7 separate regions of the Homo sapiens genome follow, and all the other regions are linked to region 4. The links are contacts of gene promoters, found by promoter capture Hi-C in blood cells and fetal thymus (Javierre and others, 2016). All regions are on one chromosome and are shown on one strand. The core of a region is centred on a gene start or on the middle of the fragment in contact, and the rest is flanking DNA. Distances in the headings are between cores, read along the strand shown.

Evidence for each region. The method cuts DNA at HindIII sites, captures the fragments that hold promoters and counts their contacts. A CHiCAGO score of 5 or more calls a contact.
Region 1: a fragment that was not itself captured here is called in contact with the fragment with the promoter of TMSB4X in region 4 in 16 of 17 cell types (naive B cells, activated CD4 T cells, total B cells and 13 more); the score reaches 16.5 in naive B cells.
Region 2: a fragment that was not itself captured here is called in contact with the fragment with the promoter of TMSB4X in region 4 in 4 of 17 cell types (total B cells, naive B cells, naive CD8 T cells and 1 more); the score reaches 9.7 in total B cells.
Region 3: a fragment that was not itself captured here is called in contact with the fragment with the promoter of TMSB4X in region 4 in 6 of 17 cell types (M1 macrophages, activated CD4 T cells, endothelial precursors and 3 more); the score reaches 9.6 in M1 macrophages.
Region 5: a fragment that was not itself captured here is called in contact with the fragment with the promoter of TMSB4X in region 4 in 5 of 17 cell types (naive B cells, total CD8 T cells, activated CD4 T cells and 2 more); the score reaches 9.5 in naive B cells.
Region 6: a fragment that was not itself captured here is called in contact with the fragment with the promoter of TMSB4X in region 4 in 4 of 17 cell types (total B cells, activated CD4 T cells, naive B cells and 1 more); the score reaches 6.7 in total B cells.
Region 7: a fragment that was not itself captured here is called in contact with the fragment with the promoter of TMSB4X in region 4 in 4 of 17 cell types (M1 macrophages, monocytes, total B cells and 1 more); the score reaches 8.3 in M1 macrophages.

Annotation. Positions count from the first base shown.
Region 1 is chrX:13,464,703-13,468,292 of GRCh38, reverse strand. No RefSeq gene overlaps it. Among named protein-coding and RNA genes, the nearest start is that of EGFL6, 100 kb to the left of the region's middle. The HindIII fragment of the contact is 283 bases long and covers 1,137-1,419 here.
Region 2 is chrX:13,444,682-13,448,592 of GRCh38, reverse strand. No RefSeq gene overlaps it. Among named protein-coding and RNA genes, the nearest start is that of LINC01203, 110 kb to the right of the region's middle. The HindIII fragment of the contact is 5,808 bases long and covers 1-3,911 here.
Region 3 is chrX:13,386,853-13,390,716 of GRCh38, reverse strand. It overlaps LOC124905248 (a long non-coding RNA gene), which reads left to right. Exons shown (of 2, transcript XR_007068395.1): 2 at 2,900-3,166. Among named protein-coding and RNA genes, the nearest start is that of LINC01203, 54 kb to the right of the region's middle. RefSeq lists a silencer at 2,681-2,780. The HindIII fragment of the contact is 1,122 bases long and covers 1,419-2,540 here.
Region 4 is chrX:12,972,647-12,976,452 of GRCh38, reverse strand. TMSB4X (thymosin beta 4 X-linked) reads right to left here and starts at 1,343. Exons shown (of 3, transcript NM_021109.4): 1 at 1,285-1,343; 2 at 92-207. The coding sequence starts at 191. RefSeq lists enhancers at 1-624, 1,464-2,303, 2,427-2,546, 2,567-2,826, 2,837-2,906. The HindIII fragment of the contact is 8,223 bases long and covers 1-3,806 here.
Region 5 is chrX:13,403,098-13,407,009 of GRCh38, reverse strand. All of the region lies in intron 1 of LOC124905248 (a long non-coding RNA gene), which reads left to right. Among named protein-coding and RNA genes, the nearest start is that of LINC01203, 70 kb to the right of the region's middle. The HindIII fragment of the contact is 8,917 bases long and covers 1-3,912 here.
Region 6 is chrX:13,347,976-13,351,961 of GRCh38, reverse strand. No RefSeq gene overlaps it. Among named protein-coding and RNA genes, the nearest start is that of LINC01203, 15 kb to the right of the region's middle. The HindIII fragment of the contact is 8,192 bases long and covers 1-3,986 here.
Region 7 is chrX:13,306,113-13,309,938 of GRCh38, reverse strand. No RefSeq gene overlaps it. Among named protein-coding and RNA genes, the nearest start is that of GS1-600G8.3, 2.6 kb to the left of the region's middle. The HindIII fragment of the contact is 1,340 bases long and covers 1,682-3,021 here.

The sequences.
Region 1 (3,590 bases), core at 29-2,528, 490 kb before region 4:
ATTCTAGGCTTATGAAACTTGAGCCAGCCCCAAATGAAATCACCTCTGGGTTGGCCAGGAGCCACTTTTTCTAATATGTTTCCTTTCGCGCCTTTCACCCTACCCCGCATAGGAGTTGACGATCATCATTAAATGTCATATGTTTTCACACAATGGAAATGAATTGTCACAATCACTATGTTGTAGGATTAGGAAGGGCCTTATGCAGGTTTTTCCATCCTTTAAGATTTAATGATAAAAAAAAAAACCTTATTTTTTGAAAATCTTATGAGATGGGCATGGTGGCTCATGCCTATAACCCCAAAACTTTGGGAGGCCTAGGTGGGTGGATCACACTTGAGGTTAGGAGTTTGAGACCAGCCTTGCCAACATGGAGAAACTTCATCTCTACTAAAATAGAAAAATTAGCCAGACATGGTAGCGCATGCCTGTGATCCCAGCTACTTGGGAGGCTGAGGCAGGAAAACCACTGGAACCCAGGAGGCAGAGGTTGCAGTGAGCCAAGACTGTGCCACTGCACTCTAGCCTGGGTGACAGAGTGAGACTCTGTCACGAAAACAAAAGAAAAAAAAAAAATAAAAGAAATCTTCCACTAGTGTTGTGTGGAAGAAAAAAAAAATCTGTTCTCATAGGAATCCACTGTAAAAGCCAGTTCTCACTCTCCCAACATTCTTTGTAACAAACCTGAAAGTCTTACACTGCAAATTAAGCTAATTTCCTTTTCATTTAGCCTTTGCAGAACTGTCTACTGATATTTCCTGGTTTAACACATTATGATGAAAAGATGAACTCTGTTGAGAGAAATGATATTAATGGAAGTTTATTTTAAGGATGAGCTGACTATTCATATCTGGACACTCTACATTTGATTCCTGGCAGACCACTGGAGAGCTAAACATTTAGATCACATTGTCGGAGGCCTGCATGAAAAATTACTTTTGCTGGGAAGTGCATTGATATTTACCCTTGTTAGCTTCAGACACAGGGATCTTTTAATAAACACCCCTAGCACAGCAGCAATCACATTTATTCTAAAAGTGATGAAGATGTGGCCCATGTGAAGACCTGCATGGAAACGTTCTTCTAGATTCTATGTGCTAGGAAAAACTTTATTTCCTCAGAATTACTGGCAAGCTTTATTTCTTAGACAACATGAATCAAGCACTTGACTATATTTTCCCTTTTTGAGTGGGCCATAAGAAAGCTCAGTGCCAAATTTTGGGTTCATCTTTGGAGTGGAGCCTGCATAAATTTTTTTTTCTATTTTTCCCTTGGTTTTGTCCATGTGTATTTTTGCAAGGCCCAAATTTTAAGTTTTATACCTATTTCATCTTAGCAGATCTATGGAGCCATTTAGAATACTTTATGTATCAAGGCAGGGAGTAAATATAGCATAAACATTCTAATAACCCCTAAGCTTAAAAAATTATTTATCAAACTACCCCTCACTTACCTTTAAAAAAAGAAAAAGAACTAAATAAATCATGTGGTAGCTTACACTTTGAAATGGGGTCAGAATTTACAGGATAATTAAAATGCCAGCTCTGGTTCCAAGATGAGGGAAGACCCAGACACAAGATCACTGAGGAAGCCAAGATAGTATTTGCCAAATGTATAAAAGCAAAATGAGCAGGAAACATTTCTACCTATTTAAGAAAACATTGCAAATGAGAACTGCAATGAGGTCAGAGGACTGTGGATATGCAGAGCAGCTAGGGGAAAAATCCTGTCAGACCTTGTAGCATGGGTCTCCTGGATGACCCCACAAAAGCCTATAAGACATCAAGAGTGCACTGACTATAACAACAATGTGTAATTAATCCCAAACAATTTGTGTATCTCTCAATAGATATTTGTGAGAGGTAGTATGATCACCTTCGTGTGGGACATATTTTCCTCTTCATATACCGTTTACTTTCAAATGATTATTTGAGGAATCAGAGCCAGTGAAAAAAGAACTCTGGAGGAAGAATTATGAGAGGAAGAGAGCTGGGGAATTTATACTTTGCAGTGAGCATGAATTTTTTCTTTTTTGTTCATTTTTCAGCACAGTACTCAGGAAATATTTTTGAAGAAAAAGAAAACCACAAACAAGAATACTAATTAATTAAAATGCTAAGCAGGTACCAGTTCCCACATGGAATCTAACCATAACCAGTGATATGGAAACTCAACTTTTGGAAAAACTCAGGCCCCAAAATACATTTTGATAGTTTTAGGGCATAAAGGAACTTTAGGTCTTTGTGATAGAATTGGGAAGATGTGAGATATAAATGGTTGTGAGGTTTCATCAATGCAGGTCTTTGTTCATCAGGTTCAAATTAGCATTTTTTCTGCTAGTCCCTGAAAGTTCTGCTGAAGCTAAATTTAAAGACTGTCTGTATTAGTCCATTTTCACACTGTTATAAAGATACTACCTGAGGCCGGGTGCGGTGGCTTACGCCTGTAATCCCAGCACTTTGGGAAGCTGAGGTGGGCAGATCACTTGAGGTCAGGAGTTTAAGACCAGCCTGGCCAACATGGTGAAAGCCAGCCTGTCTCTACTAAAAAATTAGCAAATTAGCCAGGCATGGTGGTGTGTGCCTGTAATCCCAGCTACTCAGGAAGCTGAGGCAGGAGAATTGCTTGAACTTGGGAGGTGGAGGCTTCAGTGAGCCGAGATCGCACCACTGCGCTCCAGTCTGGGCAACAGAGTGAGACTCCATCTCAAAAAAAAAAAAAAAAAAAAAAAGTGGAAGGTGAAGGGAAAGCAAGGCATGTCTTACATGGTAGCAGGCAAAACAGAGAAGAGAGCAAAGGGGGAACTGCCAAACACTTTTAAAACCATCAACTCTGGTGAGCGAGAACAGCATGGGGGAAACTGTCCTCATGATCCAATCACCTCCCACCAGGTCTCTCCCATGACACATGGGGATTACAATTCGAGATGAGATTTGGGTGGGAACACAGAGCCAAACCATATCACTATCTCTTCCATAGCTATTTTCCCTCACATTGCTTTAATCAAGCCTCTTTCTCCCTGTGGGTCATCCTTACTTATGATCTCAAGAACCCACCCAGCCCAGCCTAGCCTCTCCCTGACCTTGTGCAAATGGTAGGAAGCCTGACGGTTTGCTCTGCCTTAAGGTCTTGCCTCATCTGCCCAGAGAACTCCAACCTGGCAGTAGGGAAGGCTGAAAACCAGCTCAAGTCAGAACAAGAACCCCCAGCAAATGCTCAGGAATTCATGGAACTAGACACCTCTGAAAATGGAAGGCAAGTGCTGCTTAAAGCAAGCAGATTTGTTAAACATCTGTATAAGAAGCAGTTAGAACCCCCAGCAGAGGGTAGGAGTTTTGTACCCTGGAAATGCTGAATCAGTGGGACTAGACTCTGGAAGGAAACTAAATTCAGTCAAGGGTAATGGTACTGTGCTGGAAACAGGAAGATTATCTAGAAGTCTGCACACTGTTGGGTAGTACCCAAGCCCCTCCCTTCAACTGGGATCTCAGTCAGCCAGGTTTACATTCCTCAGACAGGATATGGAAAATACCCTCTCTGGAAAGCCTCTCTCATAGCCTGGCTTCTGCCTGGGGGCCTAAGCATGCCAC
Region 2 (3,911 bases), core at 757-3,256, 470 kb before region 4:
ATCCTCTTTGGCTTAACAACAGCTTTTGCTTTTCAAAGGCTGATTATAGATGAGACCAATACTTTTTCTTGGAATCCATCACCCACAGGACTCCTCTGTTCAGGTGATGCCATGACAGGTGGTTCTCACAGGGCAGTCAGGGATGAATTTCAGCATTGAGAGCAGGCTTCACAGTTGAGATTGGTTTGGAATCTTTCAAGAGGCTCATCTGAGTTTGATTTTGTAACTGGGCTTGGCATCTGTCCTTTAAATCCTTTCTACTCAAAGTGTGGTCCCTTGATCTGCAGCATGGGCATTACTTGAGAGCTTGTCAGAAATGCAACCCTTGGGCCCCACCTCAGACCTATTAAATCAGAATCTGATTCCACTGAGATCCACAGAGGATGGTGTGTGTATTAAAGTTTGAAAAACACTGCTTTAAACCAATCTTTGCAGAAGTGCAATAGGTGAGGGATTTTGTAAAGCAAAGACAAAAATATAGCTGTGAATAGAATTTGAGAGCTACCAGATTGAGCAGGGGGGTGCTATGTCAGGAGTTATATATATCCCCAAACTGAGTAACAAGCATGAGATCTCATAGCTTTCTTTGGGCCCTAGAGGTTACTATGACTAAATGCTTTTAAATACTGGCACTGGGCTGGGCTCAGTGGCTCACGCTTGTAATCCCAGCACTTTGGGAGGCCAAGGTGGGAGGACTGCTTGAACTCAGGAGTTCAAGACCAGCCTGGGCAAAATAGTGAGATCCCATCTGTATCAAAAACTAAAAAAAAATTAGCCAGGCATGGTGGTGTGTGCCTGTGTTCCCAGCTACTCTGGAGGCTGAGGCAGGAGAATCACTTGAGCCCGGGAGGTCAAGGATGCAGTGAACCTTGATCGTGCCACTGCACTCCAGCCTAGGTGAAAGAGTGAGACCCTGTCTCTAAATAAATAAATAAGTACTGGAACCATTATCATGACTCTAGCTTTAAAAATAAAAAAAATTCTAAAGGAGACAGAAAATGAAGGATAAACATGAGGCTGAATTTCATGGTCGGAATGCAGAAAAGGTGACTACCACTGTGGATGTGGGTGATTTTACATTACAGGCCAGGCTTTCTAGAGGCTGACTACACTCCTAATGAAAGATGAGGGACTGAGAGTCTTCCTCCTTATTTTTGAAGAAGGAGAAAATAAATTGGCTGAACCACTGCTATTAAATTCTGTTTCAATTAATTACAGTAATTGTTGATCAATATAGAACTTTGTAATGCATTCGATCCCCTTATTTTTATTTTTATTTTTTGAGGCCGAGTCTCACTGTGTCGCCCAGGCTAAAGTGCAGTGGCGCGATCTCGGCTCACTGCAACCTCTGCCTCCCAGGTTTAAGTGATTCTCCTGCCTCAGCCTCCCGAGTAGCTGGGATTACAGGTACCCACCACCATGCCCGGCTAATTTTTGTATTTTTAGCAGAGACAAGGTTTTGCCATGTTGGCCAGGCTCGTCTCGAACTCCTTACCTCAGGTGATCCACCTACCTCAGCATCCCAAAGTGCTGGGATTACAGGCGTGAGCCACTGCGCCCAGCCAGATCCCTTTGTTTTTAACAAGAGAAGCCATGCACTGCATTGCTAAGGCTATCACAATGGCATTGTCAAATATACGAACACATGATGAAATCTGTGAGTGGCTCTAGACTAATTTGGTTGGTGAAAGAGATGGTCTAAATATACACTTAACAGGCCCCCAATCAATACCTGTTCAAAGAATAATAGTAGGCTGGGCACGGTGGCTCACCCCTGTAATCCTAGCACATTGGGAGGCTGAGGTGGGCAGATCACCTGAGGTCAGGGGTTCAAGACCAGCCTGGCTAATGTGGAGAAATGCTGTCTCTACTAAAAATACTAAAATTAGCCAGGCGTGGTGGCACATGCCTGTAATCCCAGCTACTCGGGAGGCTGAGGCAGAAGAATTGCTTGAACCCGGGAGGTGGAGGTTGCAGTGAGCCAAGATTGTGCCACTGTACTTCAGCCTAGGTGACAGAATGAGACTCCATTTCAAAAATAAATAAATAAATAAATAAATAAATAAATAAATAAATAAGAATAGTAGTGGCTACAATGTACGAAGCACTTACTGTGTCTAGATACTATTCTAAGCACTGTCCATGTTGCAACTCATTTCATTCCATCAACTCTTCAAAGTAGACATTACTAAGATCCTATTTTACAGCCAGGAAGCATTCACAGAGAGTATGAATAATTTACCTGAGAAGGGGTAGTACAGGGATCAGAGCCAAGCAGTGGGTAGCAGAGTCCATGTAAGTAATTACCATGCTAAACTACCTCATGGATGAGCGATACCATCAGATCTTAGAAGTGAGATACAATCTAGCAAGGAAAATGAATTGGGTCTTGTAATCAGTAAGGTCAGAGATGGGGGCAGGATGCTTATACTTTTAGAGAGGAGATGAGTCTGTTTTTCCCTACTGTTTTCTTATTCATTTTTCCAACCAATTCTGGACACCTCCTATAGCTTCTGTCCTTCCCTCATTTTTGTATTTCCAAGGGCTTTATTTTCCAGTGCTTTTATTTTTGAAATAAAAAGAATTTAGGCCCACAATCCCAGTGTTTTGGGAGGCCAAGGTGAGAGGATCACTTGAACCCAGGAGTTTGAGGCTGCAGTGAGCTATATGGTCTTACTACTGCACTCCAGCCTGGGTGATGAAGCAAGACCCTGTCTCAGAGAAAAAAAAAAAAAAGAGAATTCAGACACACACAATTATTATTTGAGCTGGCATAGTGTTAACTTCCCCTGTGAATAGATTGTCTCCTGATCCATACCAGGGAATGGTCTTTAGTTCTGCTGTTTCTTGATTGGTAAGTTATTACAGCTGAGATGTTAATGGCCAGTAATGGCTTAAGACTTTGCTTCTCAAACTTTACTACCTATGGCAGACAGATTCTAGGGTGGCCCTCATGATTTCTACCTCCTGGGATTCACACCCTTGTACATTCCCCTCCCCTTGAGCATTGGCAGGACATGTCTTGTTTCTAAGCAATAGAATACAGCAAGCGTGACAGATGTATGTGATTTCACATATGTGATTATGTTACATAAGCAAGATTTTAATGTGTTTTGCTAGAAGACTCTCTCTCCCTTGCTGGCTTTGAAGAAGCAAGCTGCCATTTTGTATGCTGTCATGTGGAGAGGACCACACAGTGAGGAGCTGAGAGTCTGCAAGAAACTGAGGCCCTCAGTCCAGCAATCCACCAGGAACTGAATGCTGCTGACAATGATGTGAGCTTGGAAACAGATCCATCTCCAGTTGAACCTTCAGATGAGAACCCAGGCCCAGCTGACACCTTGATTGCATTCTTGTAGAGGATCCAGCTAAGCCATGCCTGGACTCCTTACCCACAGAAACTACAAGATAACAAATGTACGTTGTTGTAAATTGCCCAGTTTGTGGTCATTTGTTATATAGCAATAGAAAACTAATACAGATTCCAAGCAGATCTAACAGCTGAGGGGCATGAGGTATATGTCTGGAAGGCTAGAGACTACCAGAAATGGTTTCTCACAGCAATAAATTGCTTTTATTTTGAAAATATGTGCAACATTTGCATTTTACCAATAACTTATGTTTTTGATTGCTTATCACTTAAATACCTTTAATTTTTCACCAATGGTTCAAATAAAATTGCTCTAGTAAGTTCCTTTTTGTTTATTCTGGGGATTCAAATTTCCTACCTTGTTTCTTGGGGAATGAAAATTCCAATTGGTTATACCTCTCTGAGTTGCATTTTCATGAGTCCCATGACCATATTTCAGAAGGTTTGGCTGAATACGATGTTCAGAGAGAAGTATCACAGGCCCAGGGGAAGAGAAAGAAACTGGAAGGGCTTAAGGCTAGAATTACATGAATCGATAGGG
Region 3 (3,864 bases), core at 730-3,229, 410 kb before region 4:
AGGGACATGCCAAATTATGGGGGCTACATGAGGAAGCACTGGGCTTGGTGTTTTAGTTCGTCCTCACACTGCTATAAAGAAATACCTCAGGGGCTGGGCGTGGTGGCTCACGCCCTGTAATCCCAGCACTTTGGGAGGCTGAGGCAGTTGGATCACAAGGTCAGGAGTTCAAGATGAGCCTGGCCAACATGGTGAAACCCCGTCTCTACTAAAAATACAAAAATTAGCCAGGTGGTAGTGGCGTGGACCTGTAATCCCAGCTACTCGGGAGGCTGAGGCTGGAGAATCGCTTGAAACCAGAAGATGGAGGTTGCAATCAGCCGAGATCATGCCACTGCACTCCAGCCTGGGTGAAAGAGCAAAACTCCATCTCAAAAAAAAAAAAAAGAAAAAAGAAGAAGAAGAAAAAAAGAAATACCTCAGGCCGGGTAATTTGTAAAGAAAAGAGGTTTAATTAGTTCATGGTTTTGCAGGCTGTTATAGGAAGCATGATGCTGTATCTGCTGAGCTTCTGGGGAGGCCTCAGGAAACTTACAATCATGATGGAAAGGGGGAGCAGGCATGTCACATGGCCAGAGCAGGAGCAAGAGAGTGAGGGAGGAGGTGCTACACACTTTTAAACACCCACACCTAACAAGAACTCACTATCATGAGGACAATACCAAGGGGGATGGTGCCAAGCCATTAATGAGAAAACTGCCCCCATGATCCAATCACCTCCCACCAGGCCCCAACTCCAACACTGAGTATTACATTTCAATATGAGACTTGGGCAGGGACACACATCCAAACTATTATCAGTTGGTCAGGAGGCAGAGAGTGCAAGGTGAAAATGTGGGCAAGAGCCTTTATTGTGGTTTCCATTGGAAGAAATGGGTGAGGCAGGGTAAGCAGGTTTAGATCAGCTAGTTTGAATAATTTCAGTGGACTCTGAGGTGTAAGGGCTGTCTCTAGTGTCTGGCACCTAGCCTGGGTGATTAAGGCAGGGTAGTGGTGGCCCAGGGTGTCAGAGCTCAATAGAGGAGGCAGTTGTGGGTGTGGGCTTTGGATTAGTTGGTTTGCATTAGAAAGGCACACTTGCAGTCAAATCCTCTACTATCTCTAGGGATTAGCTAGCCCTTGGAAGAGCTCCAGGGTCACCAAGCCCCCAAGATGTCAAAGCATTAAAAATAGAGAAAATAAAAATACGCTATATATATACCTCTAGATGTTGGAAATGGCAAGGAAAGGGCTTCTTCCCTAGAGCTTCAGAAAGGAATGCAGCCCTGCTAACATGGTGGCGTTAGCCTTGGGAGACTTGCATTGGACTTCTAACCTACAGAATTGTGAGATAATAAATCTGCATTGTTTTAGCCACAAAATTTGTGGTAAGTTGTCACAGCAGTAGTAGGAAACTAATACAATATACTCCTCAAGCTTCCACCCACTAATTTTAGTATCCATTGATGATTCTTGCCTAAATCGATTTTTATTATGACCGTAATTTTTCTTATCCCATTGTTCCTTCTATTTAATAGGTGGTTTTCTACTACAAGGACAATGTTTTTTCCCCTTGCCTCCCCACCATTTATTTATATAAATATGGACACACAGATCCTTCTTTCATTTAATGGGCTATACTCCTTTATTGTCATTCATTCTGATGCTCAAATTTTTCCTAATTTCATCAGTAGGAACACCCTTAAGCTGGCTTCTGCGTCTTTTTGACTTGTCAGCTGGAAAATTTGCATGCGAAGGCCATGTAATGGGATTATTATTAATCTTCTTAAATATGACAACGGTATTAAGGTTATATAGGAGAATGTCCCCTTTCCTTGGGAGATATATTTACGGGTGAAGAGTGATGGTATTATTTGCAACTTACTTTCAAATGGGTCAGCACCTCCAAAAAGGCGATGCTTTTATAGGCTTTGTGCATCTATGTCTCTCTCTGTGTGTGTGTGTGTGTGTGTGTGTGTGTGTGTGTGTGTGTGTGCAGAGAGAGAGAATTAGCAAATTTGGCAAAATGTCAAAATGATCAAATCTAGGTGGAGGATAACCAAGTGTTTATTGTGTTATTCTTTCAATTTTTCTGCATGCTTAAAATTTTTTACAATAGAATTTAGGGGAAAATGCAAACAAAGAAAAATAGCCTTAAAAAACAGCTGATTCATTGTTCTCAGGACATAGTTGTGCATATAGCACATACTTCATGATCTTTCCCTTGGGTCCAGGGTACAAAAAGGATAATTTTTTTAATGAACATTTTAAAGTGTCAGCTTAAATCTGGCCTCTGTGATTTAATTAAATGGAAAGTTTGCCCATAAAGTGCCTGAAAGCAATGACCTCATTAAAGTATGTAAACACTGTTCCTCAGATCTCATTTACACTTTTTTATTTGTGCTTATGGACAAAGTTATTTTATAATCCAATCCCTGTCTAAATCACCATAAGTTTTAGATTAGCAATGACCCATAAAGGGAGTTTTAATATGTAGTTTATAGAAATCCACATTCCAATGAAAATCCAACCAAAGGGGAATGAAAATGCAATGCAAAGCTTATTAAACTATTTGAAGTTTCTTCTACCTAATTTTTCAGAGCTTTTTATACATGACTAGACTCATACATTTATAATCATTGAAGTTTGGCAGGTACAGAGAGCTGATATGAAGTGTTGCAAGAAAACTGATGAAGGAGCCACCCAGACAGCTGCCCTGTGGTAGCTTTAAAATAGGTCAACACATTTGAAACTTTTCCCTTTCAAGGGTGGAGACTCATTCTCTTCCACTTGAGCATGGGCTAGACTTAGTGACTCACTTCTAACTAATAGAATATGGCAGCAGTGGTGGTGTGTGGCTTCTGAGACTAGATGGTGTCAGCATGGCAACTTCCTCTTTGCTGTCTCTCTTATATCATAGCTGCCATGCCATGAAGACACTCAAGCAGCCCTATGAAAAGGTCCACTTGGGGAGGAACTGAGACCTCTTGCCAACAACCATGTGAGTAACCCGTCTTGGAAGACGATCCACCAACCCCAGTCAAGGCTTCAGATGACTGTCACTCCAGCCAACATCTTGACTACGACCTCATGAGAGACTCTGTGCCAGAACCACCCAGCTAAGCTGCTCCTGAATTCCTGACCCCCAGAAACTGAGATAATAAATGTTTATTATTTTGAGCCACAATATTTTTGGGTAATTTGTTGGAAGGCAATAGATAACTAATACAGGCTCTCATAATGTCATTTATTTGGGTCCAGTCAGCATGCTTTAGGATCTGGGAGTTTTTTTCCTTCATCCATAATCTAACAGCAATATAAGGAATACAAGAAAAAGAAACTAAAGAGACTTCCCTGGATTCTCCTGGTATTGGTGGATGTAACATTTGACTCTTTACTTCTTCCCTGCTGAGTCTGAAGGGCTTTTGCTTGAAGTAATTTGCCATTTTGGAAGAGAAGCACTATTTGGCTAGTGTGTGTTTTAGTGTCAGAAAGTCCCTTAGGAAATGAATAAACCCAGAGTCTCCAACTCACTTAATAAAGCATTGCATTTAATCCTGCAACAATCCTGTGATGTAGGCACACTTGCCTGATTTTAAGGCTGAGGGAATTGAAGTATTATGTGTCAGGGATACACACAAATGTGGGGGAATATGAAAGGTCTTGGAGGCTGTCTTCATAAATATCCAGTTACTTCTGCGTCATGGAAGAGAGGAAAAAAGAAAGGCATTAAGAAGGGAACAGATATAATGTACTGAGTATGGGGAGAAAGGTACTCTCTTTGCTCCCAAATGAGAGAATTATTTCCTGAAAGGCTAGTTGAAGGTCTAATCAAGTTGACATGGTCCTCAATCCCTAATTCCCTGGAGGCCTTGGAAACTCAGC
Region 4 (3,806 bases), core at 94-2,593:
GAATTCTTCCCGCGGCCGCTCCCAGCCTCCCGCCCTCCCACCGGCCGCTCCCACCCAGCCTTTCTAAAGATGGGGGTGGGTCGGAGCTCACTTTCTTTGGAAGGCAGTGGATTTTTCTCTTGCGTCTCTGTCTTCTTCAGTTTCGACTTATCGAATTTCTCGATCTCAGCCATATCGGGTTTGTCAGACATGGTTGCGGAGGAAAAGCTGCAGGGAGCAAGCCAAGAGCGAGCGTGAGGAAGAGCCACCCGCCCCGCTGTCTCTGGGCTGGGAACTGCACTTCTGCCCTCCGACCCGCAGCCTGAAAAAAACCCTTCTCGCTCTCCTACTGCTGCCGTTCCGCGCTCACGAGCTTCCTCTTTCTACAGAAAAAGAGGCGACACCCCCCGCGCCCCTCCTCCCCATATTTCAAAACGCTGTGGACCAAAGAGGGCGGATGCCTCTCAAAGCCGAATCTTGCAGAATAAAGGAAATTGACCACTGCGAATTGTTAATTACAGCGTTTAAAATTAAAGGCTGGCTAGGACAAGGAAAGAAGAGGAAAGCCACTTCCAAATTCAAGTGGGAAAAATCGGCAAGAATTCCTAAAATGGAGCCCAGGTAGGAAAAGCGTTTCCATTTCCTAGCCGCGGCCTCTCCGCAAGGATGCGGGCCGGATCCGGCTTTCTAGTCCTCTCACAAAGGCGGCGGCCGCGGCTGGAGCTTCCGACCACCGCCCTACCGGCTTCATCGCCCGCGTCACAATGCAGCCCCGCACACAAAGCGGCCGCCGCGCGCCCCGAAGCCGGTCTTGCCTGCTCTCCCGGCAATTCGGCATCCCTGGCACACATGTCTCTGCAAGAAGGACTGTAAAGATGTCATAGCACAGCCCCGCCGCCGCCAGGCTGCACAGATGCAGCCCGCGCAGCCGTCCGAGGCTGGGAGGAGGCTCGGGGCTCGGAAGATGAACCTCAGAACAAAGGACTTGTCTATTCCCCCATATCTCAGCCTCCAAGGCAACGCACAATACCTTTGCGGGCAAACACTAAGAAATTTTTTAATGTCCCCTCCGAGCGGCACGGCAAAACGCCAGTTTTTCGGTTTTGTTCTTAAATCATCGATTTCCCCACCCCATTATCCAGTATCTAGGGTGTTTCGCATCCCCCCAGCTCCCCAAAGTAGCCTTCCCGGGGAGAACCACTCGGGCTCGGATTTAGGGAATGCCTTCACAGGGACGCGGATGATGAAAGGGCGGGGACGGAGGCAGGACGGCAGGAGGAAGGAGGCAGGGGCCCTGGGGCTCACCGAAGCGAGGCGCACGAGTACGAGCGAAGTCTGGTCTGCGCAGTGGCCACCACCGAGTTGTCGGGCGGGGTGCGGCGGGCGCAGCTTTATGGGCGCTCCTATGTAAATGAGGTGATGTCACCCGCCGGCCCGCTTAACTCCTTCGCGCCGCGTCTCGGAACGGCATCCGGAGGCCTGCCGGGCTTTTGGGGAGGGGAGCCCCACCCCCACCCGGGGTCCACTAGTGCATGCACCCTAACCACAACGATGGCGAAAAAAATGAGCAAAGCACCCTCCAACACTTCATAACACATTTTCCCCTTTTACGTTTATTTCATTACGATGAATTTTTGCAACAGCAGCGCAGAAATTGCTCTTGGGGACCAGTGCATAATAACTAAGGGTCGGGGTGGCACCTGGGGTGACAGGCATTCTTTTATTTCGAAACTGCCTTTGTCTACTGTGGACATCTCCACACAAGGGCGCGGTGTCCCTCCCTGGAGGGCCTGGCCCGCTGCAGGGGTACGATTCCTGTGACTCAGCTTTCAGTCCAGTGGCGGGCATGCGCCCCACCCCGGGCCTCTTTGTCTTCCTCGCTGGCGTTCCTCTTGCCTTGGGTGGGACGTAAAGCACCCTTAAGTGATTTTAAAAGAGAAAGTTTCATCACTGAAACATCCATATTGTTTCATCAGCATAATTTTTGTGAGCACTCAACAGTAGTATTTGCTGGGTGTAAGGTAATTTGGAGTTTATAGGGTAAAACACCTCCCTCTTAGCAAAATAAGTCAAGCTCAAGCTCTGCCATTGACTTTACTGCCGGACAATGAGGAAGTTCTTTACCTTCCTCTTCCTTATTTTCATAAATTTTAAAAGTGATGGCTAAGGAGGCCAGCGTTGAATTCCAAAGACTACAGTTACATTATCTCTAATGTCTTAAGATGAAATTCAAAAATCAAATTATATTTTCAAGGGAGCGTTTCCAGCACTAGGACATCGCTGAAGTGCATCTGCATCTGGAAATATAAGAGATTCGGGTAGAGGGAAGCAGTTTTCAAAATGGCACCTGACTCTGTGAATACCAGTGACCCACTTGCTACTGAAAATTAGTTACAAATACCATGCCACGCGCCTGCAAATGGCGTGTGAAAGGAAAAAGACTCGCCGGTTATAAAGAGGCCTAGCTGTGATTATTTCTAAGAGACAAGGCAGTGTGCAAAATATTCCTTCTCCTTTTCCGTGGCCTGGGGAAATGTTTTTAGAAACCCCTTGCTAATCATTTTTATGGCACAGGCTTTTGTCTCGCTGGGGATTAGAGTCAACCTTATATATAGACCCTTGAATGCCACTGCCAGCAGCTTGGACTTCCCCGTTTCTCCATCTACTTGACTTCCTTTTTCCTGGGGAGGAAGGAGGTGGGGGTGAGCAGGGGCAGGTGACCGTCTGGTCCCCTAGTTAATGCTCTGCTGGGTGGCTGCCTTCCTGGCCTCCGAATGGGGCACTGGACCTGTTCGTGCATGCACCAAATGTCACCTGTCTGGTAACAGCCCCCCCGCCCCTGTTCCATGTTGGGAGTCTACTTCATCGTTGAAACACAGAAAAGATCTTGCAGGGTGCCTTTTCGCCCGTTTAGCTGGCAGCTGCCGTTGTACCGACACCGTTTCCGCAGGTTCTGTGATTCTGTTTCCCCTCACCCAGCTGCTGTCGAAAATCATTTCTTTCCTCCCAATGTCTCCTGATGACAAAGGAGTGCCACTACCTTCTCCTGGCTTCTTCTCCCAAGGGCCTTTCCTCAGAAAGGGTTAGGCCTCACTGAAGCAATTCTCCAAAGGAGATGGACGAATGCAAACTTGGAAATGTCTGGAGAAGTTTTCCAGTGCGGTAGCAAGCAGCCTTCCACTGTGCTGAGACACTGATGGAGGGCAGGTGGAAACAGAGAGGAAGAGAAAGAGAGACGACTGCTTAAAGGAAAAGAGTTCCCATGATTGGGACTGACCTGCCAACCGGTCAGGAGACCTAGAGAGACAGGAAAGGGAAGGGTGGTGCAGATACAAGGAAATGCAAACCAAAGGAATATTCTTAAAAGTTGCATGACTCTGGCCATGTGAATGAATCTTTCTGTGCTGGAGTTTTCTCATCTGTAAAATGGGTTCATTGCAACACCGACCTCACAGGGTTGTTGGGAGGAGTAAATGCTTCGGACAGTGCATGACAATTAGTAAGCTCTTTCTATTGTTATTATTCGTATGATTTAGGATGGAAGGTTGAGGAAAAATAATAAAATAATTGTCTTAGTGTTTAGAATTAATTAAAAATTTTAGGTGTCTTGATATTATTTCTCCTATAGAGACATTTATATATTATTATATATTATTTCTATATAATTAATACATATGAATATATATTATTATTTTCACTTACAAAATGTTGATAGAAGATCTTTTGGTAGTTTTACAGCAAATAAAACATGACAACTCCTGTCGGTTGATATTTTCTAAGAGTCAGGCATTGTAACGTAAGTTTTACATTTGTTTTTTCCTTTCTTT
Region 5 (3,912 bases), core at 114-2,613, 430 kb before region 4:
TTAGGGTGTCTATTTTAGATCTTTCTAGCTTTCTCTTGTGGGCATTTAGTGCTATAAATTTCCCTCTTAACACTGCTTTAGATGTGTTCCAGAGATTCTGGTACGTTGTCTCTTTGTTCTCATTGGTTTCAAAGAACTTGTTTATTTCTGCCTGAATTTCATTATTTACCCAGTAGTCATTCAGGAACAGGTTGTTCAGTTTCCATGTAGTTCTGTGGTTTTGAGCGAGTTTCTTAATCCTGAGTTCTAATTTGATTATACTGTGGTCTGAGAGACTGTTTGTAATGATTTCCATTCTTTTGCATTTGCTGAGGAGTGTATTACTTCCAATTATATGGCCAATTTTAGAATACGTGCTATGTGGCACTGAGAAGAATGTATATTCTATTGATTTGGGGTGGAGAATTCTGTAGATGTCTATTAGGTCCGCTTGGTCCAGAGCTGAGTTCAAGTCCTGTATATCCTTGTTAATTTTCTGCCTTGTTGATCTATCTAATATTGATAGTGGGGTGTTAAAATCTCCTACTATTATTGTGTGGAAGTCTAAGTCTTTTTGTAGGTCTCTACAAAGTTGCTTTATGAATCTGGGTGCTCCTGTGTTGGGTGCATATATATTTAGGATACTTAGCTCTTCTTGTTGCATTGATCCCTTTACCATTATGTAATGGCCTTCTTTGTGTCTTTTGACCTTTCTTGGTTTAAAGTCTGTTTTATCAGAGACTAGGATTGCAACCCCTGCTCTTTTTTTGCCTTCCATTTGCTTGGTAAATATTTCTCCATCCCTTTATTTTGAGCCTATGTGTGTCTTTGCATGTTAGATGGGTCTCCTGAATACAGCACACCAGTGGGTCTTGACTCTATCCAGTTTGCCATCTGTGTCTTTTAATTGGGACATTTAGCACATTTGCATTTAAGGTTAATATTGTTATGTGTGAATTTGATCCTGTCATCATGATGCCAGCTGGTTATTTTACATATTAGTTGTTGTAGTTTCTTCATAGTGTCATTGGTCTTTATATTTTGGTGTGTTTTTGCAGTGGCTGGTACCAGTTTTTCCTTTCCATATTTAGTGCTTTCTTCAGGAGCTCTTGTAAGGCAGGCCTGGTGGTGACAAAATCCCCCAGCATTTGCTTGTCTGGAAAGGATTTTATTTCTCCTTCACCTATGAAGTTTAGTTTGGCTGGATATGAAATTCTGGGTTGAAAATTCTTTTCTTTAAGAATGTTGAATATTGGCCCCCACTCTCTTCTGGCTTGCAGGGTTTCTTGGAGGCTTTGTTCATTCCTTTTCTTTATTTTTTCTCTAATCTCGTCTTCACACCTTATTTCAGTAAGTTGATCTTCAGTCTCTGATATCCTTTCTTTGGCTTGATTGATTCAGCTATTGATACTTGTGTATGCTTCATGAAGTTCTCGTGCTGTGTTTTTTAGCTCTATCAGGTCATTTATGTTCCTGTCTAAATTGGTTATTCTAGTTAGCAGTTCCTGTAGCCTTTTTTGAAGGTTCATAGCTTCCTTGCATTGGGTTAGAACATGCTCCTTTAGCTCAGAGGAGTTTGTTATTACCCAGCTTCTGAAGCCTACTTCTGTCAATTCTTCGGTCTCATTCTCTGTCCAGTTTTGTGCCCTTGCTAGAGAGGAGTTGCGATCATTTGCAGGAGAAGAGGCCTTCTGGTGTTTGGAATTTTCAGCATTTTTGCACTTGTTTTTCCTCATCTTTGTAGATTTATCTACCTTTGATCTTTGAGGCTGATGAACTTTGGATGGGGTTTTTGTGTGGGGGGTCCTTTATATTGATGTTGTTGCTTTCTGTTTGTTAGTTTTTCTCCTAACAGGCCCCTCTTCTGCAGGTCTGCTGCAGTTTGCTGGAGGTCCACTCCAGACCTTGTTCGCCTGGGTATCACCAGTGGAGGCTGCAGAACAGCAAAGATTGCTGCCTGCTCCTTCCTCTGGAAGCTCCCTCCCAGAGCGGCACTGGCCTGATGCCAGCCGGAGCTCTCCTGTAGATGTCTGTTGACTCCTGTTGGGAGGTTTCTCCCAGTCAGGAGGCCCGGGGGCCAGGGGCCCACTTAAGGAGGAAGTCTGTCCCTTAGCAGAGCTGGTGCACTGTGCTGGCAGAATGCCTCTTGTCAGGATCAGCTGCTCTCTTCAGAGCCAGCAGGCAGGAACGATTAAATCTGCTGAAGCTGCACCCACAGCCGCCCCTTCCCCCAGGTGCTCTGTCCGAGGGAGATGGGGGTTTTGTCTGTAAGCCCCTGACTGGGGCTGTTACTTTCCCTTCAGAGATGCCCTGCTCAGTGAGGAGGAATCTAGAGAAGCAGTCTGGCCACAGCCACTTTGCTGCGCCCATCCCAGACCTCACAGCCTCCTTAGCACTGTCAGGGGAAAACCTCCTACTAAAGCCTCAGTAATGGAGGACGCCCCTCCCCCTACCAAGCTCAATTGTCCCAGGCCAACTTCAGACTGCTGTGCTGGCAGCAAGAATTTCAAGCCGGTGGTTCTTAGCTTGCTGGCTTCCATGGGAGTGGGACCTGCTGCGCTAGACCACTTGGCTCCCTGGCTTCAGCCCACTTTCCAGGAGAGTGAACGGTTCTGTCTCTCTGGGGTTCTGGGCGCCACTAGGGTATGAAAAAATACTTCTGCAGCTAGCTCCGTGTCTGCCCAAACAGCTGCCCAGTTTTGTGCTTGAAACCCAGGGCCCTGGTAGTGTAGGAACGCAAGGGAATCTCCTGATCTGCAGACTGCAAAAACCGTGGGTATCAGCTGGGTAGCACAGTCCCTCATGGCTTTCCTTGGCTTGGGTAGGGAGGTCCCTGGCTCCTTGCACTTCCTGGGTAAAGAGATGCCCCACCCTGCTTCTGCTTGCCCTCTGTGGATTGGATCCACTGCCTAACCAGTCTCAATGAGATGAACTGGGTATCTCAGTTGGAAATTCAGAAATCACCTGCCTTCTGTGTTAGTCTTGCTGGGAGCTGCAGACCGGAACTGTTCCTATTTGACCATCTTGGCTCCTCCCTCCTGTTATTATATTTTTATGATGAATTTAGAATGAACCAAATTTAATAATTCCCATAGGGAACTTTGGGACACCTGAGCATATGTCCTTGGATTTCATCTGAGAGAAACAGATTTAGGGGGAGCAGGGGACAGAGTAATCCAAGAAGGGGAAACAAAAGACGAGAAGGCCCTGGGAGTGGTGATAAATCAATGTCTGATTGGCTCATTCTGTTGCAGGAAAATCTGGGTTCTTGTCACAGACCAGGAAAGATTAGGCTCGCAGACGCATAGAAGGGAGGAAAAAATGGAATTTATTCGGCAGAAAGGTAAAAAACGGGAAACAGGGACTCTCAGCAAAGTGAGGGTCCTGCTAGCAGGTTTCCTGCTTCACTGATTGAATCCCAGCTTACCACCCAGGAACAGGAGAGGCCAGGCTCCTCCCCGCTGCAAATGGCTTGAACTTTCCAAGGCTCTACCCTAGTGCGCACTTCTCCCAGTGCAAAGGCTGGCTGGAGGTTCTCTGGGGAGCCCCTTTTACTTGGCTGTCTCAATTCCTTTAATGTGAGTGGCGTGAGCCTGGGTTTTTGTGGCTCTCTAGTGAAAGAAGGTGACACCCAAAGACACAAGGATCTAAAGGAGAGAAGCAAGATGTGTGGAAAGGCAGTTCCATTGAGTTGGCCTGTAGCCATTTCCCCTTGCCAGTCCATCCCTCATCCTACATGCCTCAAGAGGCAGAGAGATTTTTCTTTGATTCTACGGAGTTGATTCCTGTGTGTTTGGGTCAAACCTGAAGGCATTCATCTCATATATCAGAGGGCCTCCCTGCCTCTCACAGTGGACTCACTTAGTTCTGCCTTCCTTTTGAGTTCTTGCAAAAACCTAACTCCTGCCTCAACTTTGTCCACTAAAGGTAGAT
Region 6 (3,986 bases), core at 881-3,380, 370 kb before region 4:
GCCAAGTCAAACATCAACAGAGTGGGGAAGAATGACCCTCCCCTAGAGAGTATTAGTGACAAGATGGGCACAGGGGCTTACACCTGTAATCCCAGCACCTTAGAAGGCCAAGGAGGAAGGATTGCTTGAGCCTAGGAACTCGAGACCAGCCTCGGCAACACAGTGAGACCTCCATCTCTACAAAAAAATAAAAAATATTAGCTAGGCATGGTGGCACGCACCTGTAGTCCCAGCTACTAGGGAAGACTGTTTGAGCCCAGGAGTTCAAGGCTGCAGTGAGCTATGATCGTGGCACTGCACTCCAGCCTGGGAGACAGAGCAAGACACTGTCTCAAAAAACAACAAAAACCAACAACAACAACAACAAAACCAAGAAAGAGAACACTAGTGACTATTTATGAACACGAAATATTTTCCATATTTCAAATGAGCTTCTGTTCTAATTCTGTGTCCCTAGATGCAATACCACTCAGCCTCGAGAATGACCAGGTCAAGGGGCTGTGGTATCACTCACGACTGGATGTAACCCACAGTTGACCTAGGAAAGTTTCTCAAAGCATGTCCTCAAGAATACTAGTTACGTCAAACATCCCTAAAAATGGGTTATGTAGTCTTGATTTGGGAAAGTGCTATATCCCAAACTCTTGAAACTTTGCAGTGATAATAATATGTTCAAGTCTCTGAGAAGTCCTGTAAAATGCTGGACTTTGTTTAATCAAAAACTTTCCAAATCTTTTTGATCCTGAAGCCTTTAATTTCTTCCATAATTTTATTTATTATTTGCTTTGCATAACACCTATTGGCATCCCACAGTGCCACGGTTCCCTGATCACAGTTTGGGCCAATTTGCTGCAATAAGACTGGGCTTGGGATCAGGTCCCTAGGGTTTTAGCTCCACCTCTTTCACTAAATAGTGTGAACTTGGTATAGCATTCATAACTCTGTTTTAATTTCCACATTTGTTAAATGGAATTATGTTATCCTCTGAGCCTCTAGTGAGATCATTAATGTGAAGACGACTTAAATAATATAGTGTTTTATATATGCAAAGAACCAGCCTTGGACAAATATTTCAAAAAGACCCATCTTTTTTATCAGAGTCCCGACTCTTCTCCTTGCACTTCCCACAAGCCCGGTTCTTTGGGCCTGTGTCAGAATAAGATGAGCTGACAAATATGCTTGACGTGAACTCATCTTCATAGTTGAGCTATAAACACAGAGCCCTCCTCTCTTTGGTGTTTCACAGCCAGCTGGGCTCTGGCTTGAAAAAGTAAAACCAATCACTGCAGGCTGTTGGTGCAGCAGTAATAGTATTTTTGTCTTCTAGATGTGCCTGGATGAATGGGACTACTCAGGTGAAGGGAGACTTGAGGGACCATATATCTACCATAGGTGGGGCAGAGACAGAGCCTGAATTCTCATTTCCCATAGTAAATGCACCAGGGCCATGCAATGAAGATTAGGGGAGGTCCCAAGACCCTCGCCCACCCTCCTCAGCTTATTCTACACATGCGGAAATTGAGCTCTCGGAAGAAGAATTCCCTTGGTGTGAGTCCACAGAAAGTTGGTGATGTGGTAGAATTAGCAGTCTGGATTTCTCCCTTGCAGCAGACTTCTTGTTCTAGCCCACTTCCTTTCCCTGTTCACTGTGCATGAGGGTAGCTTGTAATAAGATTTCCTACTTCTGAAAGATTTATTTGAATATACTTGTAGTGGATCAGGAATTTTCCACAAGTTGAAGTGACCTATATGTCATTTTGCCGATAAACACAAAATGAAACAAAAAACTGTAATCTACTGTGGAATTGGGCATACTGTCTCCAAGCCATCTTTGGAAACCAGTTCTCTGGGGGTGGGGCTTGGTTAAGAGTCTACTGGAGTCTACTGAGCAGTTAGAGGGTCTAGGATGAAGGAGGAAGGAGGAAGGAGAGAGAAGGGAAATAATTCAGGGTGATGGGATTCTCTGGCAATGTGCAGAGCCCTGGGGAGATAGATGTGCTATTGATGAAGTTTGTGAAATGGTAAGATGTGAGCTCTCTCTGCACATCGGTGAGTTCTGACTGGCATGGAGTGCATAAGAAGACAATTCATGACCTTAGAGATTTAGCTTCAAGCCCTGGATTCTTTGGCAGCCAGATTCAGCTTTCACAAATACGATTTTGTAGGTGATCTCTCTTAAAGCCAGAGAGAAAAGCAACAGCAGTTCTGTAAGTGTTGATAGGGAGCCTTTGTGCTTCGGCCTTTCTCCTTCCATCTGCGTCTCCTGAAGCGGATTTAAAAGGAAGCCTGGCCAGGCAAGGTGGCTCATGCCTATAATCCCAGCACTTTGGGAGGCCGAGGCGGGCGGATCACAGGGTCAGGAGATGGAGACCATCCTGGCTAACACGGAGAAACCCCGTCTCTACTAAAAATACAAAAAATTAGCCAGGCGTGGTGGCATGCGCCTGTAGTCCCAGCTACTCGAGAGGCTGAGGCAGGAGAATCGCTTGAACCCAGGAGGCGGAGGTTGCAGTGAGCCGAGATCACGCCACTGTACTCAGCCTGGGCGACAGAGTGAGACTCCGTCTTAAAAAAAAAAAAAAAAAAAAAAAGGAAGCATGTGAATGCATGCTTTGAAACGGAACGTGTATCTTTTTGCGAATAATGTCACCTAATTCTTAAGCTACTTTGGGAGCATAATACACTATCTGATCAATTTGTGCATTCAGGACTAAGTCCTTTATAAGGGTGGTGGAAATTTTGCTTTCAGATGTGTTCCATTGAGGATATAACTAGCCTTTGATAATGAATGGATTTTTCCATTCAAAATAAAGATATCACTCAGGAGGGTTCCAATATATCTTCTCATTATATGGCCTGGACTTCGCATACTTAAATGAGCTTACCTCAACCTACATTTCCAAGGTCTTCCCCTCCCTCTCTTCCCTCTCCACTTTTGGCTATAGTCATGTGACTTTTCAAATATACACACAGATATTACCAAATATGTTCCCAGACATGTAGAGGCAGCATGTTGTAGTAATTAAGACTATGAACTCTAGACCTAGGCTCTTGGATTCAAAGCCCAGCTTTGACAATTACTGTTCCTTTGGGCAAGTTACTTAGTAATTCTGTGCCTCAATTTATCTGCAAAATAAGGATGGCATTAATAGTACTTATCTCAGAGGGATGTTGTTAGGATAAAATGAGTTAATATTTATACAGCTCTTGAAACACTGCCTCGCAGATGGTAAGTCCTACAGGCTTATTAAACAAAATGCCTCTATTTCTTTGCATGTGCTTTTCCTTCTGCTCAGAATGCTTGTCCACCACTTCTTCAGCCCTCACTGTACTCCCATCACTTTTTAAACAGCTCTACGGAGGTATCATTGACATGCAGTAAACTGCACATATTTAAAGTTTTGACATATGTACACATTCATGAACACATCTATCACTCACAAAAGGTTTCTCATGCCCCTTATACTTCTTTTCTCTCTCTCCGTGCCCTCCTCCTTGGCAATCACTGATCTGCTTTCTGTCACTGTAAGACTTCTTTGAATTATCTGGATTTTTATATAAATGCAATCATACAACATGTAGTTTTTGGTGTCACTCCTTTCACTTAGCATAATGTTTTTGAGTTTCATCCACATTGTAGTATGTATCAGTAATTAGTTCTTTTTTATTGCTGAGTAGTATTCCATTGTATGGATATACTACAACTTGCTTATTCAATTACCTGTTGATAGATATTGGGGCTTTATCTATTTTGTTACAGTTGTTTTCCTAGTGCCTCAAACAGTGCCTGACATGTAGTAAGTACTCAATAAGTAGTACTTTAAAATAAGTGAATGAAAGAATTCCTTCTGGTGTGCTTCACCTTGTCCTTAAAACAATTATTGTTGCTATGAACAATCTGCAGCCATTACAAACCATGCCTTCAAAGAATATTGTATCATATGTAAGAACACAAATTGTTGCTGATAATAGGTCAGGCGAAAAAG
Region 7 (3,826 bases), core at 1,102-3,601, 330 kb before region 4:
CCAGAGCAAATCTTTTCTTTTTTTTTGCCATGTAAATTTCTTCCTGCACTCTTTGTGGAAACCTAAATTTCCATCAGTGACCGCATTTAGATTCCATGAGATTCTTAGTCACGAATTCCTTTGAAAACCAAGTAAAATGTCAAGAGAGAGAAGCAGCACCCTATAGCCCCTCTTTTTAGTTCCACAGTGTGGGAGCCAATTTTCTTGTAATTCTGGAGAGGAAAAAAATCACCATGTGGCTATAATTCTGAAGACTGTTTTTTTAGATTGCCCAGAGACTAGCAGATGCAGAATGAAATAAATAAAGGCTATTTTTCTCATGTTTGAGGTGGTTTCCAATTAATACTTCTTTATTTCTCTTTGCCACTCCACTTTTCCCCAATCTTTCCTGATAATAGAGTACAAATAACCTAAATGTTCTATGGTGATTGTAGATACAAAACTGATATATCATTAGGCAATTTTTCCTTTTTAAAGAAAATGTTCTATTTTTTCATGATTATTCTTAGCTACTACCTACTTCTACTCACCAAAGTCAACCATCAGCCATGAGAAAGAATATTGAGGCCATAATTAAAACAATGGCAGGGGCATGAACAACACCTGAGAATGCTGCTCTGTCTCCTATATCTACTTCTCATTCAACCCAACCCTTTACTTTTTGAAAATGAAAAATATTACCTTTTTTTCTAGTAATGATTTTGTTAACTTTCATTGATTGACTTCCCATGGAATTATTTCCTGGCTGGCAGGGAATTAAATGTGATTTAAAATTATAATGTACTACCAAGTGAGTTTTTATGTCCAAAGTTCATGAAATCATATTCATTAGGGGCTTTTCCTTCATATTCTGACTTACATGAAGGCAACGTTTTGCAGTCATATGTATTAGTAAGGTGGTGATAGGGTAACTGAAGAGCTTACCTCTCTGTGTTTATCAACATCTGGCGACAAGAGACATCTGACCTCTGGTTTAGGCTAAGCAGAGGACAAAGTCTGGCATTTGGGCTTTCAGTTATGCCACACCCTGACTTAGCAAGGCTCTTTGCCTTTAGTAGCCTTGTACCTTCCCTCAGAGCATGATTTAGATGACTTCCAAAATTAATTCTATATTTTATGTCTCATGTCTTGCCTATTATGTCTGGATATAATTGCAATACTATGTAACTGTTATTTTTATATATGATATATGCAGTGGACCCTTGAAGAACAAGGGTTGCTGTGCAGGTCCACTTTTATGCAGATTTCCTTCTGCCTCTGCCACCCCAAGGCAGCGAGATCAACCTATCCTCTTCCTCCTCCTCCTTTGTCTACTTAACACAAAGACAGTGAGGATGAAGACCTTTATCATGAGCCACTTCCACTTAATGGTAAATATATTCTTTCTTCCTTATGATTTTCTTTTCTCTAGCTTACTTTATTGTAAGACTACAGTGTATAATACATATAACATGCAAAATATGCGTTAACCAACTGTTTATGTTACCAGTTAGGCTTCCGGTCACCAGTAGGCTTTTAGTAGGTAAATTTGGAGGGAGTCAAAAGTTACACACATTTTCGGCTGTGTGGGGGCCGGTATTCCTAACACTCATGTTGTTCAAGGATGAACTGTATTATATAACATATATCCTATATATACCAGTATAGATATTAATAACAATTATTTTATTTTATATAAGCTTGGAACTCCTGGGATACTAAAATTACTATTTTTGAACCTAAAAAAAAAAATCAACCACCCCCCGAAACAGGCTTCCACTACTAAGCTATACTATTTATCTTAAATATGAAACACTATTATATCTTACCCGTTTTTAGAAGCAGACACTACAACAATCAAATTTTCTGGGCACAGTGAAAAATATCATTATCTGCGTACACGGATTTGTATATAATTTAACGGATATTTACAAAGCCCAGTATTGTTAGGTATGATGAGAAGTCAAAGATTTGTGGTTTGTTTTTCATATAGCTGGTGGTATTTTTTGTTTTTGTTGTTGAATTTTGCTGTTTCAATATACCAGTGTGCTTCAGGCACTTTTCTTCTCTGTTTTGTTTGTTTGTTTGTTTTTTGGTTTGTTTCTTTCATACAGAAAAATGTTGCCACTTATCAAGGGGAATGATTAAACATATGAAGTAGTCATATGATGAAGTATTTAAAATCATTAAATATCATACTTTAGAAAATATCAAATATCAACTCAAGTGTATGCTGCTTGGGTAATGGGTACACCAAAATCTCAGAAATCACCACTAAAGAACTTACTCATGTAACCCAACCACCACCTGTTCCCCAAAAATCTATTGAAATAAAAAAAATTAGCTTATCAAATCTGAAAAAGAAAGAAAATATCAACTGACCTCCTAAAATGCCCATGAAATGATACTGAGGGGAGGGGAAAAGATAAAGGTGATGTACACAGAATAAATGCAATTACACTTAAAATGCATTTACATGCAAAAAAAAAATAAGTAGCAAAGAAATACACTAAACAGTTATCTCTGAGAGTATAATAATGAGTGATTTTTATATTTCTCTGTAGACGCTGTGTAAGTTGTAAATTTATACAAGGCACATATTTGACTAATTAACAGGAACAGGATAAAATTATCTTCAAAGTATCATTCTGTTCTCTTCTTGACTCTTTGTCTGACAAGAACAAGATTGTCTGGTGAGGCTGTTATGAGGATGAAATTGGAGAGCATCTGTAAACCATATGTGAAGCTCAACAGGTCAAAAGAGCTTGGTTCTCATTCTTCCACTAAGGCTATTTTCGAAATTTTATCTGTACCTTTAATTTGTAGTTTCTTTGTATTATTACTATAACACAAGATTTGCTCTGTATTATTACTATAACACAAGGAAACTACAAATTAAAGGTACAGATAATATTTTTGTTTGTATAAGCTGCACACTAAACCACTATAATTGTGCAAAGGTGTTTAACTCTTAGGACTCCAGCACCCATAGGCCTCCACTCCAATAAGGAGATTATACTGTGAATTACTGACCTGTAAGCTTCGTGGGGCAGGATTCCAAGACTAACTTCCTTGGTCAAATGAGAAAATAGTCCAGAGAAAAATATTATCTTTGTAATACAGAAATTAATAAAGAGATAAAAATAATGAGATCTTTAGGATCCTAGTATAGACAAAGAAGCCATGGTGGCTAATTTCTCAGATTCTAGCAGGGCTTCTTTACCTCCGCCCTACTGACAATTTGGGCCAGATAACTTTTTGTGGATAATTATTTGTTATGGGAACTGTCCTGTGTGTTGTAGGATGTTTAGCAGCATCCCTGGCCTCTACCCACAAGACACCAATAGCAATCACTTCTCTAGGTGTGACAATTAGAAACGTCTCCAGACATTGCCAAATGTCCCTGCAGGAGTAAAACTGCCCCTAGTTGAGAATCATTGGATTATAGAAAGAAGGAAAATAAAAATCATGATGTTCTTTCATTTTCTCCAAATCATCCGACCAACAACATTGCTAATGGTAATCTAGAGACAGTTCATAACAAAACAGGCTTAATTTAGAAAGATATAGTTATGGATTCAGCCACTTTGATTAAAAAGTTGTAATTCTTGTCTTTAGTCCACTGCCCATTCATCCTAGGGAGAAGATTTTATCAAGTACTAGTAAGTAGTAGGCCTTAGGCTACAATCTACCAACATGTGTCTAATTCAAGGGCAAAGAGTTGGAAACTCATAAGGTGGAGAGGAGGTCTACTTATAAGCCAAAGAAAGCACATTCCAGAGTTACTTTACTTAAGAATTAACAACTACAATACAGAGAATTTGTGAAAAACCCATTCTGCCACTGA